6 separate regions of the Homo sapiens genome follow, and all the other regions are linked to region 1. The links are contacts of gene promoters, found by promoter capture Hi-C in blood cells and fetal thymus (Javierre and others, 2016). All regions are on one chromosome and are shown on one strand. Each heading gives the region's core, a stretch centred on a gene start or on the middle of the fragment in contact. The rest is flanking DNA. Distances are from core to core; before and after follow the strand shown.

The links. The method cuts DNA at HindIII sites, captures the fragments that hold promoters and counts their contacts. A CHiCAGO score of 5 or more calls a contact.
Region 2: a contact is called between a fragment that was not itself captured here and the fragment with the promoter of RCHY1 in region 1, in 1 of 17 cell types (total CD4 T cells). The highest score is 5.0, in total CD4 T cells.
Region 3: a contact is called between a fragment that was not itself captured here and the fragment with the promoter of RCHY1 in region 1, in 1 of 17 cell types (non-activated CD4 T cells). The highest score is 5.4, in non-activated CD4 T cells.
Region 4: a fragment that was not itself captured here is called in contact with the fragment with the promoter of RCHY1 in region 1 in 1 of 17 cell types (non-activated CD4 T cells); the score reaches 5.2 in non-activated CD4 T cells.
Region 5: a contact is called between a fragment that was not itself captured here and the fragment with the promoter of RCHY1 in region 1, in 2 of 17 cell types (naive CD4 T cells and total CD8 T cells). The highest score is 5.4, in naive CD4 T cells.
Region 6: a contact is called between the fragment with the promoter of HNRNPD here and the fragment with the promoter of RCHY1 in region 1, in 1 of 17 cell types (total CD4 T cells). The highest score is 6.2, in total CD4 T cells.

The regions. Positions count from the first base shown.
Region 1 is chr4:75,512,794-75,515,964 of GRCh38, reverse strand. RCHY1 (ring finger and CHY zinc finger domain containing 1) reads left to right here and starts at 1,562. Exons shown (of 9, transcript NM_015436.4): 1 at 1,562-1,768. The coding sequence starts at 1,679. THAP6 (THAP domain containing 6) reads right to left here and starts at 1,492. Exons shown (of 5, transcript NM_144721.6): 1 at 1,445-1,492; 2 at 433-532. The coding sequence starts at 512. RefSeq lists enhancers at 797-1,016, 592-1,522, 1,357-1,836, 1,523-2,453. The HindIII fragment of the contact is 8,040 bases long and covers 1-1,802 here.
Region 2 is chr4:67,541,772-67,544,942 of GRCh38, reverse strand. It overlaps CENPC (centromere protein C), which reads left to right. Exons shown (of 19, transcript NM_001812.4): 2 at 748-794. Among named protein-coding and RNA genes, the nearest start is that of CENPC, 2.1 kb to the left of the region's middle. The HindIII fragment of the contact is 193 bases long and covers 1,360-1,552 here.
Region 3 is chr4:83,456,394-83,459,564 of GRCh38, reverse strand. It overlaps MRPS18C (mitochondrial ribosomal protein S18C), which reads right to left. Exons shown (of 6, transcript NM_016067.4): 2 at 2,607-2,656; 3 at 1,136-1,219. It overlaps ABRAXAS1 (abraxas 1, BRCA1 A complex subunit), which reads left to right. Exons shown (of 9, transcript NM_139076.3): 9 at 1-48. Among named protein-coding and RNA genes, the nearest start is that of MRPS18C, 1.9 kb to the right of the region's middle. The HindIII fragment of the contact is 1,216 bases long and covers 987-2,202 here.
Region 4 is chr4:82,902,194-82,905,364 of GRCh38, reverse strand. It overlaps THAP9 (THAP domain containing 9), which reads right to left. Exons shown (of 5, transcript NM_024672.6): 2 at 434-629. Among named protein-coding and RNA genes, the nearest start is that of THAP9-AS1, 2.9 kb to the right of the region's middle. The HindIII fragment of the contact is 989 bases long and covers 1,427-2,415 here.
Region 5 is chr4:82,429,796-82,432,966 of GRCh38, reverse strand. It overlaps HNRNPDL (heterogeneous nuclear ribonucleoprotein D like), which reads left to right and starts at 2,505. Exons shown (of 8, transcript NM_031372.4): 1 at 2,505-3,171. It overlaps ENOPH1 (enolase-phosphatase 1), which reads right to left and starts at 2,377. Exons shown (of 6, transcript NM_021204.5): 1 at 2,054-2,377. The coding sequence starts at 2,137. RefSeq lists enhancers at 1,787-1,886, 2,250-3,045, 3,046-3,171 and silencers at 2,127-2,446, 2,567-2,966. The HindIII fragment of the contact is 225 bases long and covers 1,420-1,644 here.
Region 6 is chr4:82,372,320-82,375,490 of GRCh38, reverse strand. HNRNPD (heterogeneous nuclear ribonucleoprotein D) reads left to right here and starts at 1,500. Exons shown (of 9, transcript NM_031370.3): 1 at 1,500-2,045. The coding sequence starts at 1,813. HNRNPD-DT (HNRNPD divergent transcript) reads right to left here and starts at 923. Exons shown (of 2, transcript NR_183813.1): 1 at 826-923. RefSeq lists enhancers at 1,372-1,541, 2,902-2,951 and a silencer at 1,902-2,001. The HindIII fragment of the contact is 7,055 bases long and covers 374-3,171 here.

The DNA of each region.
Region 1 (3,171 bases), core at 313-2,812:
ACACAGCTAAAGATCCCTTGGTCTTAACTTGTAATTTGTATTTTTTCTCTATAACCTATGCTTGATCTACTTCTAAATAGAGAGGGCAATATATTCGAGCAAAGCTCCTTCATTCAGATTGTAAACTACATGTAAACAACATTGAATTTCTTTGGCGGTGTGATAAAATACAAAGTAATAATATTAGCAAAAGTTAGCCTTATGGTATTTTTTGTAAACCAGTCTCTGATATCTTAAAGTCTCTGATATCTTAAAACTTTTAAACTAAATTATAAACATGTAAAGGTATCACATTGTCACTTCAAATTTAACAAAAAGGTTATTTAAAAAGGACTCGGGAACTAAAGTTCAAAATTGAAGACTTAAGTAGAACTGTCTTTTGCTTTTTATAACATGGCCAAAGTATTTGGCTTAACTACAGCAAAATCTTACACGTGAAATGTCAGTCCTTTTAACTTCGAATTTGGCAAGCAGCGAGAAGCACATCCAATGGCGGAGCAGCATTTCACCATTTTAGCAACTCATAACAAAACTGAAAGAAAATTAGAATGTTAAGAGTTAGTAACCGGAAAGCTGAAGGGGAATATTTTCCCTTTCCCGGTGTTTTAGGAAACACAAAATCAGGATAGAAAGCTAAAGACAAATATCTTCTTCTAACACCTGCAGCTTTGCTTACATCATTTTCCAGGGCCTTGACTCTTTAATAAGGAGAAACATATTTAGCTGTGTACCCCGAGTATGATTTCAATTTTGTTGGCTTGTACATTTTCCTTCCACCTTCTAACAGGTACCATGTTCTTTGTGCCACAAAGCCTTTTGCACACTAACTCCTACCCATCTTTCAGCCCTCGGCTTGCATCGCTTCCCCAGGGAAGCCTTCCCTCACTGACACTCAGATTGTCAGAGCTGCTCTAATATTAGCTCTCACAGGACACACACTTCTTCCTAGCACTTCTCCAGGTTGTAATCTTACATTTATTGCAGTGATTGCTCTTATTAATGTCTTCCTCCTCCACCAGTCTTGTTAGTTCCATGAGGTCATGGTGGAGTGTGTCTATTTTTCCTTACTTTTTGTCCTCACGGTTTAGCTGGTGACTGGCAATAGTGAATGTCAGTACATATTTTGAAAGAACAGCAAGTAAACGGGAAAGGGAGGAAGCAAGAAGCACTTCGAGGTGCCAGCGAGCACCCTGGCGTCCAAGAGCAGCGCGCGGGACCCGCTGAGCCCAGGGCCCGGGCCGAGCTCCGCCCCTTTCTCCAGGCTCCCCGCCACCGGAGGGAGAGAGGGAGGACCCGTCACAGGTAACGATGCGCCCAGTGAGCGTCCTTTCCTCTGGGGCCAACCAGCGTCTCCGCGCCGCTGCCGCCAACCTCGCGCCGAACTACGCCCTGAGATTTGGGCGGGTAGCGATTGGGGGAAAACAGGCAACCTAAGAGTTATTACCGTTAGCAGCGAAGACTGCGACTAACGTCAACGACGGAGACTGCGTCTGCCTTCGCTTCCGCCTCGTAGCCCCGGGAACCGGAAATCCGTCTGCCCCGGGTCACGTGCTTAGGAGCCATATTGTCGCTAGTGGCCGCTGGGGCTGGGAGGGGTGTGCTAGAGAGGCGCAGCTTCTCTGGGCGTGGTTTTTATCCTGGGGGAAGGATCGGTGGAATGTGAGGGGAGGTGGAGGAGATGGCGGCGACGGCCCGGGAAGATGGCGCCAGCGGTCAAGAGCGAGGTCAGCGGGGCTGCGAGCACTATGACAGAGGATGTCTCCTAAAGGTGACGCCTTCTATGGACTCTTCCCTGACAAGCTTCCGTCAGGTTGGGCTGGGGCGGGCTGGGCAGGTGGTTAGGCTTGGATTTAAGTTTGAGGTTAACCTGATTTTCAGGATACCTTTTCCACCTGGAACTGGGTTCTTCTTGAGGAGAACGTTTTTGGCAAGGCGATAAGCCCCACCTTTCCTACCTGCTTCGTACCTTTAAAGCAAAACCCTTCTTGGGAAGTGATTAGGCTTGCACAGTGGTCTCTGCCAGTGGGCTTATTCGTCTTTTGCTGCCGAAGTAGACTGAGGCAGCCCCGGGCCTGTACTGGGGTTTTCCGTTCAGGTGTGTGATGAAATAATGGAAGTGGAGATAATGGAAATAAGCAAGTGGAGAACCCGAATACGATTTCAGCTCCTGTGGTAAAGTTTTATAGCCTGCCAGCTTCATGTTAAAGGCAGTGCACATGTTCAGACGTAGGAGAAAACGTGTGTCCCAAAAAAGAAGACAATCATGTAATTGCCATTAAATAGGAAATTATGCATAGGAAAGTGCCTAATAAGCATGTATTGTTACTCTGAGAAAACTTCTTAATCTGTATTTTTTTTTAAATTGGCACGTATTCAATTGAAGTTTCCTGATTTTCCTTGCAAGAAACAGTACAAAAATTTTGCTTAGAAAACTTGAGCTTTGGAACCTCAACCGCCCTATCCCCAAATCTTAGCTCTCCTCTTTAATAACTGATTTTAGCTAGCTCCTCTCTACCCCGTATGTAAAATGGAGATGATCGCGCCTGTTTCATAAAAGTGTATGAGGATTATATACTAAAGGGCGTGTATAGTGTTTAACAGGGCGCATTCCCTGAAGTAAATGAGTAGTAAATATATACCACCATGACTGTTACTATCATCGTCAATCTGAGTATTATTATTTTTTGTTCTTTCACTTCACAAGTCAGCCTTGCTGGTCACTGCCTCATTATTAGAAGCAAGTTCAAGTCTCAGGCCTGTACGTGCATCCTAAACTCTTTTCTATAGGTCATGGCTTGACGAACATTGCTCCACTGAACTGGATGAAGCTCCTTAAAAATGTTGGTCATCCACCAAGTGTTGTGTAAGGAAATTGAATGCTATCCTTATGATTCAATTTCTACTGAGATGTATTATTATTCTTTCAAACTTGAGGTCTAAAACGGAATTTAACATCTTGGTGCCCCCCATAAACCACACAATTAGATCTGTGTATCATAGCACTAAGATACTTCGCCCTAGGTGTCAAACAGTTTTTGCCTTCCCCCGCCCCCCCCCCCCCCTTAAATACCAGAGGCCAAGTGAAGTATTTCAAGGAGGATGTGGTCAGCTGGGTCAAATGCAGCTGTTTGAGTAAGATAACTGAGAATTGCCCTTTGGATTTGGCAAGGA
Region 2 (3,171 bases), core at 207-2,706, 8.0 Mb after region 1:
CCCCATGGTAGAAGTATTGAAACGCCTTAAAAGTGTGTCTTTGCGTCACACTTGGTAGTTGGGAGAAACAGATTATGTAACAAGTACGTCTCGAAATAATTTGACGTTTTCAGTTCTTCTGTCAAAATGGTGGCCTTTTATGCAGTTCTTGAGGCTGATTTATGGAGCATATGTTATTGACAAACTCTTCTGAAAGACAGCTATCAGTTAAAAGGTACAAGCTGTGAATGACTAATGGGGGCGACAACTCATTTTGTTTACATATTTCTGGACTTCTTTGGTGTTCACTATTCTATATTTCATACTTTGGTTATGGTTACTATATAAAAATCCGTATCATTTCTTTTCTAATTTATCTCCCCTTCTAAGAAAATCTTCAGCTTCGATGATCTCCCATTATGTGACGTTATACATATAAACATAAAGAGTTGTATGAAAGAATAATATAATCTATACTTTTTACTATGAGCACATATATTGTTTACATTATATATAATCAGAAGAAAGCAATAAAGCCATTCTCACTGTGGGGAGAGAAGCGGAATAAAGCTTACCAGATGCCTGCAGTTCAGTTTTTAAATGCCTGTCATAACCTATGTTATGTCATAACATAACCTCAAAATTGTTTTGAGCCCTTAGGAGATGTTTGGTGTATAGCATGCCCATACTGGATGAAGTTACTTTGAAAATAAATTTTACTCGACTCTATCTTAAAGAAACCAAATTGATGATTTACTTTTCTTTCAGGATCATCTCAAAAATGGCTACAGAAGAAGATTTTGTCGACCTTCCAGGTGATTTACGTACTTAAGCTTTTAAGATTATTTTTATTCTCATCGTTAATAGATTTTTAAATGAAGAAAGGAAAAACTATCACCTCTGACTAATATAATGATTTCTGTGCCCACTGATTAAGGGTAGTCATCTTATACTAACGGGAATGTTAATGCAAGCAGTGCAATGACTTTGTGGCTGTGAAAAAAGAAATTCACCTGATAAAATAGTGGAACCAGGAAGAGGGAGTCTCAGTTCTGACTAAGTGACTGCCATGGGAAAAGCATTTTGTAGAATGAATCAAATGGTAAAATTAGAAAGATGTAGCTTATTCAGTGGGGCAAAAAGAAAAATAGTACATGCTGTCGTGCATTTGTTGAGTGCTTGTTTGGGTTGTTTTGGTTCTTCTTTTAGTTGTAAAACCTGTAAAAAGTAAATTTTCTAGTTAAATATTTACTAGTAATAGGATGAAAAGCATGTTTTTAAAAGTGAAGATGTTATTATGAATAACGTCATGTTTATTGAGCTGTGATTTTAGTAGGTCCAATGGGGCACAGAAGTATGTTCTTTTGTTTACAAGAAGCTTAGATTTCTGTTGGGAAAATGTATATGTACATTTGTGAAACAATTTAATGGACAAAAATTATTACTTGCAATACTGAAGTAATGACTTGTGTATCATAGAGAGTAGGCCTATATATAATTAGGCATTAACTTGCAGTATAGACAGCCATGTGAGAAATTAGGGATTTGTGTGTTGTTGATATTAAGAAAAGCTTTAAAGTTGTAGTGTAACTTTGGTGGACCTTGAACAGGTATTTAAAGACTAAGATAAAGTATATTCCAGACATAGAAAGTAACTTAACGAAGGAACCAAAGTAGGAATACATATATTTGTCAGTAGCAGAGAGACCTGATTTAAGAAGGTTGAATATGTTGGGTAGAAGTGGAAAACAAGACCATATGAGTTGGATTGAGCCATAAAATGGATATGTTAGGCTTTAGGCATCTATTATAGGCTTGAATAAGCTCTCCTAAATCTTCTGTGGAATAAGGGCTATCTGATATAAACACACACACACATTTAAAAAAGCAAAGATGTTTGATGTTTACAAAGTAGCTTAAGGAGGGTGTTGTAGTAATCTACACATGGTGGAGGTGCTTTTATGCTAAGGTAATAATGACAAAGGGGAAGAAAAGACGAATTTGATAAATTTTGAAAAAGCTGTTGCCTAATGTGACCTGCGTTCTAATAGTGACTCTGCATTATCACCTTGGCAAATCTGATCTTTTTGGATCTCATCCTTGAAACAGGTAATAGCAGGAGTGTATTTATAGCTGTGCAATATGTGCACCTGTAGGTGGTATTTTGGGGTGATGTCAAGGCCAGAATTTATAATAGTCACCTATATATATTCTGGTAGAAAACCGGCCACTAATACTACTTAGGTTTACAAACTGAGGTAGGCCATTTGACCATTTTGGGTTTCAGTTTGCCTATCTGCAAAATGAGGGCATAGGATTCAGCTAGGGGTTTTTAACTAGATTTGCACATCAGAATTACCTCCATCACCCTAGGAAATCTAATTAAATTGGTTTGTGGGAAGTGACCAATTAAGTGTATTTCTGCAAAGCTCCAAAAGTAACTTTACACATCTATTTGGATGATGATTATTGGACTGGATGATTTCTGAGATCTTTCAGTTATAAAACTTTATGATGGATGACCTGATAATGCACTGTGGCTCACAGTTTTTAATTACTGCATATATAGTACTTTTCCAGCTCTCAATAATAGGAATGTTGTAGATCAGGGATCAGTAAACTCTGGCTGATAGGCCAGCCAAATGTTTTGTCACAGGTTTTATTTCAATTTTATTGGAACACAGCCATGCCTCTTTGTTTACATACTGTCTGTGGTTGCTTTTGGGCTAGAATGGGAGAGTCGACTGGTTGTGACAGAGACTATGGTTTACAAGCCTAAAATATTTACCATCTGGCCCTTTAAGCAAAAGTTTGTCCACTCTGTTAGAGATGCATGTCAATTTTATACTGATTGAAATCCAGATGTTCTTCAACAGGTAAATGGTTAAACACTGTGGTACACACATAGCATGGAACATTACTTGACTCTAAAAAGCAATGAAATATTGGTACATTCAACTTGGATTTATTTCCATAGAATTGTGTTGAGTGAAAAAAGCCAAGGCAAGAGGATACATGTTGTATGATTCTATTTACATATAATTGTTTCCACATGACAGAGTTTTAGAAATGGAGGACAGATTAGTGGTTGCCAGAGGTTAGGAATGAGAGGAGGCAGGAAGGAGATGAGAGAAAGGTGGTTATGATTACAAAAGGACAATAGAGGATCTTTGTGATGATGGAACTATTCAG
Region 3 (3,171 bases), core at 345-2,844, 7.9 Mb before region 1:
ATCCAGTGTGTCAAGTCTATATATAATTAAACAGCAGATTAATCAGCATATTCATTCAATGGTAAATCTGTTTTCTTGACTTCCACAGATACCTTTCTAAAATATTGCTTGAAACAAGCTACTAAAAAATTTCATCTATCCTGACAAGCTATCACATTACCCTCTGATAATCATTAAGATAAATTATCAGGGGGTAATGAGATTTTCAAGAGGTACAAGTACACCAGGCATTTGCTATAATTTATGTTTTATTTAAATACTTCTTTAGAACCTTTCTAGGTGCTAGTCATTATTCTTGGCACTTTGCATAATCTTCCTAGTATGTGTGTTTTTGTAATTCTTGGTTCTTCCTCAAAGGCAGCTATCACTTTATACTATTGTCAATATATGGAATTCTTTTTTTTTTTTTTTTTTTTTTTTGACAGAGTTTTACTCTTGTCACCCAGGCTGGAGTGCAATGGCACGATCTCAGCTCACTGCAACTTCCGCCTCCTGGGTTCAAGCAAATCTCCTGCCTCAGCCTCCCAAGTAGCTGGGATTACAGGCATGCACCACCACACTCAGCTAATTTTTGTATTTTTAATAGAGACGGGGTTTCACCACATTGGCCAGGCTGGTCTCAAACTCCTGACCTCAGGTGATCCGCCCGCCTTGGCCTCCCAAAGTGCTGGGATTACAGGCGTGAGCCACCACACCCAGCCAACATACAGAATTCTAGCGCTATTCACTTGCCCCAAATTTGCAACTTCTAACTTGCTGAGAGTTAGACAAGAGATAAGTAATATGTGAATCAGTGATATGGGTGGTGAGATAAAGAGATCAGCTTCACCAGATGAGCTTTTTCCAAAGTTCTGACCCTCACCAATTGAGAATTACTGCCACAGGGAGCTATTAAGATGTTTGGGGTAGTGAAAAAAACAGAGTGGAAATAACAGTAAGTGGGGGAAAGCCAAGGTGCTTTTACTTGAATAAAGCAGAGATAAGCTTATACATAGAATTATAACCAAATTTGAAATTATGAAGTTGCTAAAACAGTTACCTCTACAAAAGCCTGCTATAAACTGACTTGATTCTCTTTAAGCAGATCTATCAGAAGCAAAACCCTAAAATATAGTGAAGTAAAACCAGATCTCACCTGTACATTCTTATAATCTACATGCTTTCCACACAAGATACATTTCTTAAGAGGTTCTTTATAAGGATTTTCCATTGAAATGGGCTAGGGAAAAAAACGAAAAGTCTGATAATAGGATGTGTTAATTCTGAATTTTAAAAGGTTACTATTCTACATTCAAATCCATTCAAAGGATTAGTTATACCTTTCTTACTGTGTACATATTTTGTATAAGCACTTTATTTTGTTTTAGTTTAGCCTACGGATTAACGCATGGGAAGATTCTGGAATAAAGTACAATCTTCATAGAATAAAATTTTATGGCAGAACAAAAATGATGTCTGATAAGAAAGTGTTCCAATGCTTTGCTCAGATTGTAGATAATGAAAAAATTTTTAGATTTAAGGAAACTTACAACACAATAGATAACATATGCCATTCTTAAATGAGTACAATCCCTAATTTATCCATCCCCATGTCTCTATCAAGTATTTTATCACTATTTTTATACACAGATAATGGCCCATGACTTACTGTAATAAAAGGTTCTTTGACTTTATCACCCCAGGCTACTATATAAGTTTGTATCAGTCTTTTTGGCTTTTCTGTTACCACCACTGCCTCTAATGCTTTTGTCACAGTGCCTCCTTCCTACAGTCAGTATGGCTGTCTCCAGGATAGAGGTTCTTAATCTAGAAATGGCTTTGAAGCCCATGACTCCCTGTAATCGTATGCAAAACTTCAAATGAATGGGACTGTGTGCCTTTTTCTGTGGAGAGGGTCCATAACTTTGATTAGAGACAAAGTGGGATTTATGAACTAAAAAAGAAATAATGTCCCTTTACTTTCTTAAAGTATGGTGCATGGATTAGATTACCAAGACAGATGCTCAGAGAAACTAGACAAGTTCTTTTGTTTTTTCCAATTCCTCAAACTTTCCAATTTACATTCAGCTCACGTAACTACTCTTCAGCTCTGTGCCAAGTGCTTTGTATGGTCTAATTAGTGTCAAAATACCTTTGCATGTAGCAAGAACCTGTGCTTTCAGAAAGTCCATGTTAATACTATAGCCAACCTATAGCTAAGCTTTGTACAGTCTCTTTTCAGTTATCTAAAATTCTGCTCACCCAAACTACCTTTTAAAATTCCCATATCATTTGCTTACAAAGGGCTATGTAAAAAAAAAAAAAACAATTCCCAAATCACATATCCTTAAATTTAAGATCTAGGAAGAAAAATATGGTATTATAGCAGCTTTGCTTCTAATCTAGGAATTCCCCTACTTCAAAACTCAGCTGACTACATGACTACAATCAATTCATCATCATTTCTGAACTCAGAGTAATTATCAAATTGTTTTGTCCTACGGCAGAACTCTATTCAAGTAGCTAAAATAAAAGATGTTAGAGTCTAATACCAGATCTCGTTTTAAAAAGAAAAACATTTTGGTCATATTTGCAAAGGCCTTACTAATAGAAAAAAAAATTCTTACCAGGTCCTCATTGCTGGATACCTGTTGTGAACAACCTCTTCTCCAAAGCACTGCGATTAAACAGAAACAGCAATTAACCATTTCTTTTTCTTAGCTGAATAGCTAAAGATTTTTGTTTTTATGGAGACAGGATGAATTAAGGGACACGATATTAAAGAAAGGTTTTGTATTATATTCAGAATGGTTAAAAACTTTTATATTTGGGACAGAGTAAGACTCAACATGGGTGTGCTTTCCAGGGCTTAGGGGGAAAAGAACATATTTTCCCGCCCATACCTGCTCTTTCTGACATTTATTTTCCCTTCATTCCATGGTTAGAGAAAATTCTTAATGCAAATTCTTATAGGAGAAGCAACAGAAAGGCACTGTCATACCAAAAAGAAAGTAACAGACCCGTCCCAGAAAGAATTTATAGAGAAGCACAGAGAAGATAAAATTGCAAAAATTATGCAATTTTGTTCTGTTTGGGGACCTTAGACATCTGGAATTTGCTGCTGGGCGACTCTGGAAATGTCCCTTCCTCACTAAGATTATCCAGAGATCTTAGGAAAGTCTCTGCTTTTTA
Region 4 (3,171 bases), core at 672-3,171, 7.4 Mb before region 1:
AAAGTTTCATTATTTCCCACATACTTCCTGTATCAATGTTAATAATTAGGTATATTTTTGATCAAGATAAATAACATTATTAGGAGGAACCAAAAAACATAGATAATTTCAAAGTACTATGAAAGCTGTCTCATACTTAACAAAAGCCTGTATTCTAAGGCTATTTATATCTACCAGTTGATTTTTGCAATTGGTTAGTAACCTTTATATATATCTAGACAAATGATTTGCATTTATATAGTTTTTTAAAAGCTCCAGAACAAATGCTAATATATATAATTTTTTTTTTAAATTTTCAAAGCATTTAAAATCTATTACTGGATTTAAGACTTGGGTTTTTTTGTCTGCAAATTCTAGCTATAATGGGGGCTATCTTGATTTTTAAAGGCTCTGTAAATTTTCATTTTGTTGACTTACACCTACATTTAAATACCTTGTATAGAGAAACAGAAGGCACAGCTCCTTTTTTCAGCTTTCTTCTTATGCCATATGACTCAAAGTCACTTTCTTGAAAATGTTTGGAACACAGTATAGCACCTGGTCCTGGAATCCAAATCTTTTTGCTTCTGGGGTCCACACGATTAACAGCCCTGATCCATTTTGAGCGCTGTATGGTATCAGTTGGAAATCTATGACAATCACATTAAAGTTCCATTAACATGAAAACATTATAGTACTATTACAGTAGTATTTATTATATAAACCCATCTATTATTTTACTGCTTTATAGAAACATAAAGCCAAGTGAATTAAAAGTTTAATTTACTTAGTTCATTTTTCAAAGTTCTTTGATTTTTTTTAATCCAAAGGTTCAATATCTGATTTTTCTTTGTCAATCATAGAGGGGCAATTCCCATATTAAAAATCCTACTATATTTTGTCTTCACTTCCTACACTTAATAGAATTTGCTCAAATTTAAATGGTTAAAGAATATATGCATCTTTTCCTTTCCTGTAGTGATTTTAAACTATTTGGTACTCTTCCTTTTAAGAAGTGAAGCCTGGCTGGGTGCAGTGGCTCATGCCTGTAATCCCAGCACTTTGGGAGGCTGAGGCGGGAGGATCAGCAGTCAGGAGTTCAAGACCAGCCTGGACAACATGGTGAAACCCCGTCTCTACTAAACATATAAAAAATTAGCCGGACGTGGTGGCGGGTGCCTGTAATCCCAGCTACTGGGGAGGCTGAGGCAGGAGAATCTCTTGAATCCGGAGGTGGAGGCTGCAGTGAGCCGAGATCGCACCATTACACTCCAGCCTGGGCAACAAGAGTGAAACTCCGTAACAAAAAAAAAAAAAAAAAAAAAAAGGGGGAGCCTAATTCCCCTCCCCTTGAGTGAGTATGGGCTAGAGTTAGTGATTTGCTAAGGAATGGAAAAAGAACATGTGACAGTAAGTGACCACAGACTACGTCATAAAGGAACAAGCTTTCCTCCTTGCTCTCTGTAGAGAATGGTTTGCTCTGTGGTAAGGTATCTGGCATGTTATAAAGCAGTCCTGTGGAGAAAACTAGTTGGTGAGGAACTGAGGCCTCCAGTCAAAGGCCATGTTGAGTTAGTCTTTTTGAAAGCAGGTGACTTCAGCCTTCAGATGAGTGCAATCTTATGAGATACTGTAACATCGAGCTACACTCCTGAATTCCTGACCCTCAGAAATGTGTGAGATAAAAATGTTTATACTGAATTTTGAGGTAACTTGTTATGCAGCAGTAGAAAACAAGACAAGTATATTTACTATATTGTTTTTTCATGTTTAAAGGCACTACTTTTTCCTAGCCTTGATTATAAAAATTACCTTGCATTTATTTATTTTTCAATCCAAGCCAAATTATGTTTAGAAACTTGTCGGCCAGGCGTGGTGGCTCACGCCTGTAATCCCAACACTTTGGGAGGCCGAGGCGGGCGGATCACTTGAGGTCAGGAGTTCAAGACCAGCCTGGACAACATGGTGAAACCCTGTCTCTAATAAAAATACAAAAATTAGCCGGGCCTGGTGGCTCCCACCTGTAATCCCAGCTACTAGGGAGGCTGAGGCAGGAGAATCGCTTGAACCTGGGAGGCAAAGTTGCAGTGAGCCAAGATAGTGCCACTGCACTCCAGCCTGGGCGACAGCAAGATTTCATCTCAAAAAAGAAAAGAAAAAGAAACTTGTGAAATTAACACAATAAAAAGCACAAAACTACTCTTTCTGCCCCTTCTTCTTTGACGTTATCTTAGAGACAGACTTATAGGTAACTATGCTTTTTGTGTATTTTAATTTAGACTTTAAAACACATAGTTACTAGAACTGAGATTGGTATAAATTTTATTTCTCAGCTAAATGCTACAAAAATATAGCAGCATGGTAAAACATAATTCTGATATGCTCTCTAAATCACCTTGAGAAAGAACTCTGAATTGGAAAACCTGTATTTAAGCTTCAGTGACCTTCTACCAGCTATATGGTATTAGACACATCTCTCAATCTTAGAACTTCCTCACAGGGCTGTAGTAAGAGTGTATGAGGCTACAAATGTATTCAAAATCACTTTGTAAACTGTAAAGTACTATCCAAAGTTCGATCTTTCCTAAGAACAACTAATTCCATTTCTGGGATTATAATTTTATTGTTCTAAGAAGATGATGATACTTGATCAAGGGCAAATGAACAGGGAATTCTTTTTCCAATAAAGTTGGGGCAAATCTATCTTTTTTCACTGAGTTCTTTTCTAACTCATGGAACATATTTTGCAAGGGAGCTTTTCCACAGATTGGGTATAGTCTCTAAACGTGCAAGGAACCCTCAAAAGTTGGCTGGTCCAACAACTTCTATTACTAGCGTGGTCCTCTGATGCAAAGCTTCCCAACAGGTATGCCTAGTGAGTACAGCTGTTGATATTCTTAGTCCATGGGGTGGGCTGGGACACCTGAGTAGTTACTTGAAGGCAGCCCCAAACAGTGCTGTAGGTTTGCCCCAAAGTATTGAACAATTATTTCCTATGCGTAAAATGCTATGAAAAAGGCTGGGGCTGGGCAGGGTGGCTCATGCCTGTAATCCCAGCCAAGAAGTTGGAGACCAACCTGGGCAACACACTGAGACCTCATCTCTACCAAAAAAAAAAAAAAGCCGGGATGGTGGTCTGTGCCTGTAGTCCCATGAGGCTGAGGTGGGAGGATCACTTGAGCCTGGGAGATA
Region 5 (3,171 bases), core at 283-2,782, 6.9 Mb before region 1:
GTATTTGTCCTGAAATTTTCCGCAGAGGTCTCTGGTGTGATTAAAAACGTGGGGGAAGGTCAGGCGCGGTGGCTCGCGCCTATAATCCCAGCACTTTGGGAGGCCGACACGGGAGGATTACCTGAGGTCAGACCAGCCTGGTCAACTAAAAATACAAAAATTAGCCGGGCGTGGTGGTGCGCGTCTGTAATCTCAGCTACTCGGAAGGCTGAGGCACCAGAATCGCTTGAACCCCGGAAGCAGAGGTTGCACCACTGTATTCCAGCCTGGGAGACAGAACAAGACTCTGTCTCAAACAAAACAAAACAAAACAAAACAAAACGTGGGGAAGAGGCCGGGTGCCATGGTTCACGCCTGTAATTCCAGCACTTTGGGAGGCTGAGGTGGGTGAATCACTTGAGGTCAGGAGTTTGAGACCAGCCTGGTGAAACCCTCTTCTACTAAAAATATAAAAATTAGCTGGGTGTGGTGGCACATGTCTGTAATCCCAGCTACTGGAGAGGCTGCGACAGAAGAATCGCTTGAAGCTGGGAGGCAGAGGTTGCAGTGAGCTGAGCTCACACCACTGCACTCCAGCCTGGGCAACAGAGCGAGACTCCGCCTCAAAACAAAAACAAAAACCGTGGAGAAAATGCTAAACTCGATTTCTTCTGAACCTATGCTAAGATGTCAAGGTACTGTGATTCTTCTAAAAGAATTTTAAAGGTTGTTATGTTTGGTGTCCTAAAAGTGTACATGGATTTTATATTATAACCTACATCAAGAAACTCATTCAGGCCAGGCGCCTTGGCTCATGCCTGTAATCTCAGCACTTTGGGAGGCCAAGAATTCCAGACTAGCCTGGGCAATATGGCGAAACCCCGTCTCTACAAAAAATACAAAAATTAGCCAGGCATGGTGGCTCTCCCTTCAGTCCCAACTACTCGAGAGGCTGGGGCAGGAGGATGCCTTAAGCCCAAGGAGGTAGAGGCTGCAGTGAGCTGTGATTGCACCACTCCACTCCACTCCAGCCTGGGAACAGAGTGAGACTCTCAAAGAAAAAAAAAAAAAAGCCTTATTCACAGATAATTTTTTTTAAAAATGGAAACTAAAATAGAATTTAAAACCCAAGCTGCTCAGTTTCTTGGAAGATGGATTTTTCCTACTTGGTAATATACTTTGTATATCTCGACTATTATTGTGCATGCAAGCACCTCTAAGAAGTACTTGTATCTGCAATGAATTCTTAAACCTCAGGGAGCCAAATAAAAAGACAAGGCCCGAGGAATTCTTTCAAAAATTAAAGTAACATTTCATATTTGCTTATTCTAACAGACAAAGAATAAAGAAGGAATCCGCTAAGTTGCAAGCTGAGGTGCAGACAAGTGCTGGTTCACAGTGACATCCTAGAAGGAATGCTCTGGATAAGAGCTTCAAGCTTCTGTGGTTTTCTGAGGAAAGTGAACGGAATCTAGACGTGTCCTATAGCTCAAAAAATCAGCGCTATGGACCACAGCGCCTAACAGAGTAAAATAATACACTGTGCAGTTTGGCCACTAACAGCAAGAGTGGGAAGGGGCGAAGAGGAACCTTGATTGCCCGACACCAGGGCCACCTGAAAAGTCATCTTGACACTTCAGTCTTTCCATTTTGAGATCGGAAGCTTTAAGGACCATTAAATCGCTGCCGCTGCCACACCAGGCCCGACGGAGCAGAAAGGCTGCGCTCACCTGCGGAAGCGACCGGGTGCACACCTGCCGGGTGGCGAGGCCCGCACCGTCACACCCCGCCCCGGCTTACCTGCCCTTCGGTGATTTTTAGCGTCAACTTCCATCCCTTCCCACCCATCTGGATCCAACCAAGCGCAAGGGCGGGGGAGGGAGAAGCTAGTGTCGCGAGGAAAAGCATCCCCGCAACCCACCGCAGGCTTTCTCTCCTTCCTCCCCATTCCACACAAGAGGCAGCCACACCGCCTCTCCTAACCCTCGTCTCCAATGCAAGGCCTGAAATACTTAGAAAAAATAATAACTGTTTTTAAGGAAAAGTAACATCCCCGCTCCCTTCCGCCCCTCACCTTCACGAAAGCAATCGGGGTTGTGGTACCTTCGATATCTAACAGGATCACGGTGACTTCGGCGGGGACCGAAAGCACGACCATTTCCCTACCGGATGCTACGGGACTCGGCCTGCTGTTGGGGAGGGCGGAGGGCGGCGCCGGCTGCGGCTGCGGCCCCCGGTACCGTCTTGGGCTTCCGGCGGCCCCGCGCGATCTCGGAGCCAGCGACCAAGTGCAGCCCGCCGCGCGTGGGGAGAGGACACTTCTGCACACCTGGAACTGGAAAAGGCGGCCGCCCAGGAGCCCTGAACTCGTGAGCAGGACGGGGCAGGAGCCCGAGACCACGTGGGCAGGAAAAGGGGCGGCCCTTGACGGGTTCGGCGGGGCGGGGAGGGTGAAGGCGCCAGCGCCGATTGGCCGCCGTCAGGCCTCGAACTGGATCCGTCAAAATGGGCCTCGCGTGGGCGGGAACAAAGAAGCGAACGCGGGAGCAGGGTGCGCGAGAGCGCGCCCTCCGCAGACAGGTTGAGCGAGCGGGAGAGGCCCGGGGCACGTGCAGAAAGGAGCCCCGCGAGTGGCGCGCCGGGGATGTGAGTGCCCCTTGCCCTCTACTGAATCCAGCCCCCTCCCCGCCCACCGCCTCCGCCTTTGCATAGATACAGTCATCTGGCCAGCCCCCGCCCCTCCTCCCGGCGTCAGCCCGCCAGAGGCCGCGCGGGGCCCGGGCTTCGGCCGATCAGCCCGGGAGGCCCCGCCGCGCCCCCTTGGCCCGCGCGCCCGTGGTCACAGTGGAAGAGGCGCCCGCGCTGCGCTGCCCGGAGGAGCCGTCGCGCGCCCGCTTCCTGTTCGGCTGGTTCCTGCCAGCTCGAGGACAAAACACGCGTGCGCGCGGCGGGCGAGCGCGCTCGCCGCCTCAGTCGCCAGCGCCGGGCGCAGTCCGCCTTTTTCCGGAGCAGACTGGCCGCGGTGCTAGTCGGTAGCAGCGGCCGCCGCAGCGGCTCCGCACTGGCGAACCGAGGGCAGAAAAAGGCGGGGTTGACGGCTTTTTGGTAGGAGTGGGCTGGACCGGACGCCAGAGACAAAGGCTCCCAAGGCAAGAGGGACTGTGGCCCTGCGTCGGCTCTGCTCGGGACTGC
Region 6 (3,171 bases), core at 251-2,750, 6.9 Mb before region 1:
GTGCAAGTGGCATGATCTCGACTCCCTGCAATCTCCACCTCCCGGGTTCAAGCGATTCTCCTGCCTCAGCCTCCTGAGTACCTGAGATTACAGGTACCGGCCACCACGCCCGGCTAATTTTTGTATTTTTAGTAGACACGGGGGTTTCACCATGTTGGTCAGGCTTGTCTCGAACTCCTGACCTCGTGATCCGCCCGCCTCGGCCTCCCAAAGTGCTGGGATTACAGGCGTGAGCCACCGCGCCCGGCCCAAATACTTAAACTCTTAAGATTTTTGCTGGAGTCTGCAAACTCGTCTTTGTTTCCCCCGTGCCCGAACACTTTAATTAAACAGGCAAATAATTATTTGTTGACTACAGAAGTACCTAGAAGCTTCATTTTCTTCTAAGGATACTGCTGGAAGCAGCAAATCCCAAAGCCCGAATAATCCAGTCTCCAGCCGAGGCAGCGGGAATTTTTAATAGGTGTATAAAATTACTTTTTATACACCTTAATGAAACGCCTAACGGTGTTACAAGAAAAGAAAAAAAAAAACCACGCACACACAACAAAAAAGCCAAACCCGAACACAAACTCATAAACCTCGTAAAGATGACTCACGACATTTATATATTCTATGTACAAAGGCTAAAGAACATTAAGCGAACCCTTGATTTAACACACTTTCCAATTATTAGTAACGTAAAGGAATCACGGTACGTTTTAGGATCTTTAAACAACAAAAGCAAAGCAAAAACAATGTTTTCCTTAAGATATGCAAGTTACCTGCTTCTTCGACCAAAAACAAAAAAATTCCAGGAGAAAAGCAGGCAAACAAAAATCTTACTTGGAAAGCCAAATCTTAAAAAGAAGCCCTATCGGCCCAGCGGCGATAGACGAAAACCTCAATGTCACCCGGTCCCGGGCGGCGACGGCAGGGAGAGTAGCTGCGGCAATCAGTGCGCGCGCGGTCCGCTGCGGCGCCTGGCGCTCCGCGGGCGTCCGGGTGGACAGCGCCAGGGGCACAGGGCTGACATCTCAGGGCTAATTCCCTCCTCCAGTGCGTAAATCCAGGCTTAAGCCGCCGCAGGGTGTGAGCCTCCCCTCCCCCACCCGAACGCCGCAGCTGCACGGGGCACGACAGCCTTCGCAGAGGTGCAGCCACACCCCGGCCTAACGCTGCTGCTCCCGCCGCTACTGGAGTGGTGGGGAGGGGTGAGTGGACTCCAGGAATCCTCGGAAGGGCGGGGGCGGAGGCAGGGGGCCCCTCTAGCCGCTACTTCGAAACAGCACTCCTTGTTCTCGATGGTCCCCGCGCGACTGTCTTAGCTCACGACACTTCCGGTTCCTTTTAAAGGCCCCCAAGGCTGTGCAACGCGGAGCGTGAGAGGAAGGTATAAAGGGTAGCGAGAGGGCGGGACCGAGGAGGAAAGGGAAAAAAAAAAAACTAGGGGGATAGGGGTGGGGGGACGCGCGAAGGGCGCGCTCTCGCGTCACGTGACCGGGACGCGCCGTTCTTCCGTCGGCCATTTTAGGTGGTCCGCGGCGGCGCCATTAAAGCGAGGAGGAGGCGAGAGCGGCCGCCGCTGGTGCTTATTCTTTTTTAGTGCAGCGGGAGAGAGCGGGAGTGTGCGCCGCGCGAGAGTGGGAGGCGAAGGGGGCAGGCCAGGGAGAGGCGCAGGAGCCTTTGCAGCCACGCGCGCGCCTTCCCTGTCTTGTGTGCTTCGCGAGGTAGAGCGGGCGCGCGGCAGCGGCGGGGATTACTTTGCTGCTAGTTTCGGTTCGCGGCAGCGGCGGGTGTAGTCTCGGCGGCAGCGGCGGAGACACTAGCACTATGTCGGAGGAGCAGTTCGGCGGGGACGGGGCGGCGGCAGCGGCAACGGCGGCGGTAGGCGGCTCGGCGGGCGAGCAGGAGGGAGCCATGGTGGCGGCGACACAGGGGGCAGCGGCGGCGGCGGGAAGCGGAGCCGGGACCGGGGGCGGAACCGCGTCTGGAGGCACCGAAGGGGGCAGCGCCGAGTCGGAGGGGGCGAAGATTGACGCCAGTAAGAACGAGGAGGATGAAGGGTGAGTAAGGGGCATCCCAGGATAGTCAGGCCCAACTAGTCCCCCTCCCCCTCTTTATTCCCCCGCCATTAGGCCTGGTTCCCGCTCTCAGCCCGTTCTCCGGGCCCCCATGCAGCCTCCTTGCACTGGTCTCCCTTTTTCTATGTTGGGTTCCCCGGACCTTCATTTCCTTCTTCCTTTGCCTGCTTATCGCCCCCCTCCCCCATCACACACGTTTCCACCTTTAGCCGTCACCATGCTGCTCCTCGGCCCGCCCTCCTTTCCTCCCTCGCCATGGGTCTCCTCCCACCGACTTAGCCGCCAGGATTTTTTCCCGCCTGTCGTGGGGTACCTTTTTTCTTTCCATGCTGTCCCCTCTTTTTCCCTTTTTCTACAGTCTTGGGCATAAAAACACAGACACAAACAGCTTCTCTGTTTGTATTACTAAGGTTTATTTGGTGCTTCTCCACCATCCTGAAACGATGCGATTGTTTATAAGCACATGTTTTGGGGAACGCGTAGGCTGTCCACCTCTGCCTCTCCCTTGTCGGCCTTAGGCCGACTGTTTTCTTGGGATTTTGAATAAGTTTCGCCTAAGGATTTACTCATTTTCTCCACCATACGCTATCGCACAATGGCATACTCATACAGGCCCTACATTTTGACATGCAGACCAAATTGGGTCTGGTGAAATGCTCCGAGTTTCTTGTTGGTACATTGGTTTTGCTCCGCGGGCTCTGGTTAAGTTCTTAGTCGATCGGGCCTGCACTTGACTGGAGCTGTTCCTATCTCCGGCCTAGCATCTACCCTTCCCCCACCCCACTGAGTTATTCTAACCGCGCACCCTTTTCGCGCCCTCAGCTATTGGGTTCCCCAACTGTTAGTACAGATTGTACCTTACTTTTTATGTGCAACCTAATTTTTTACAACCCCCAGCCCCCTTTTTTTCCCGGTGCCCAGGATCCTATTTTGGTGTCTTGATATCTGTTTCCCGCCCACTAAGGGAGGCCTGTAGTCCTCTTAAGAGAAACAAATCCTGTATTGTGCTATGGGATACTTTTTTTTTCTTTTTGGTGCAAATTTCTTAGTATTAACTTGCTTCCTCCAATTGAAATAACAGTTGTATATACTACCTAAATCTGCATTT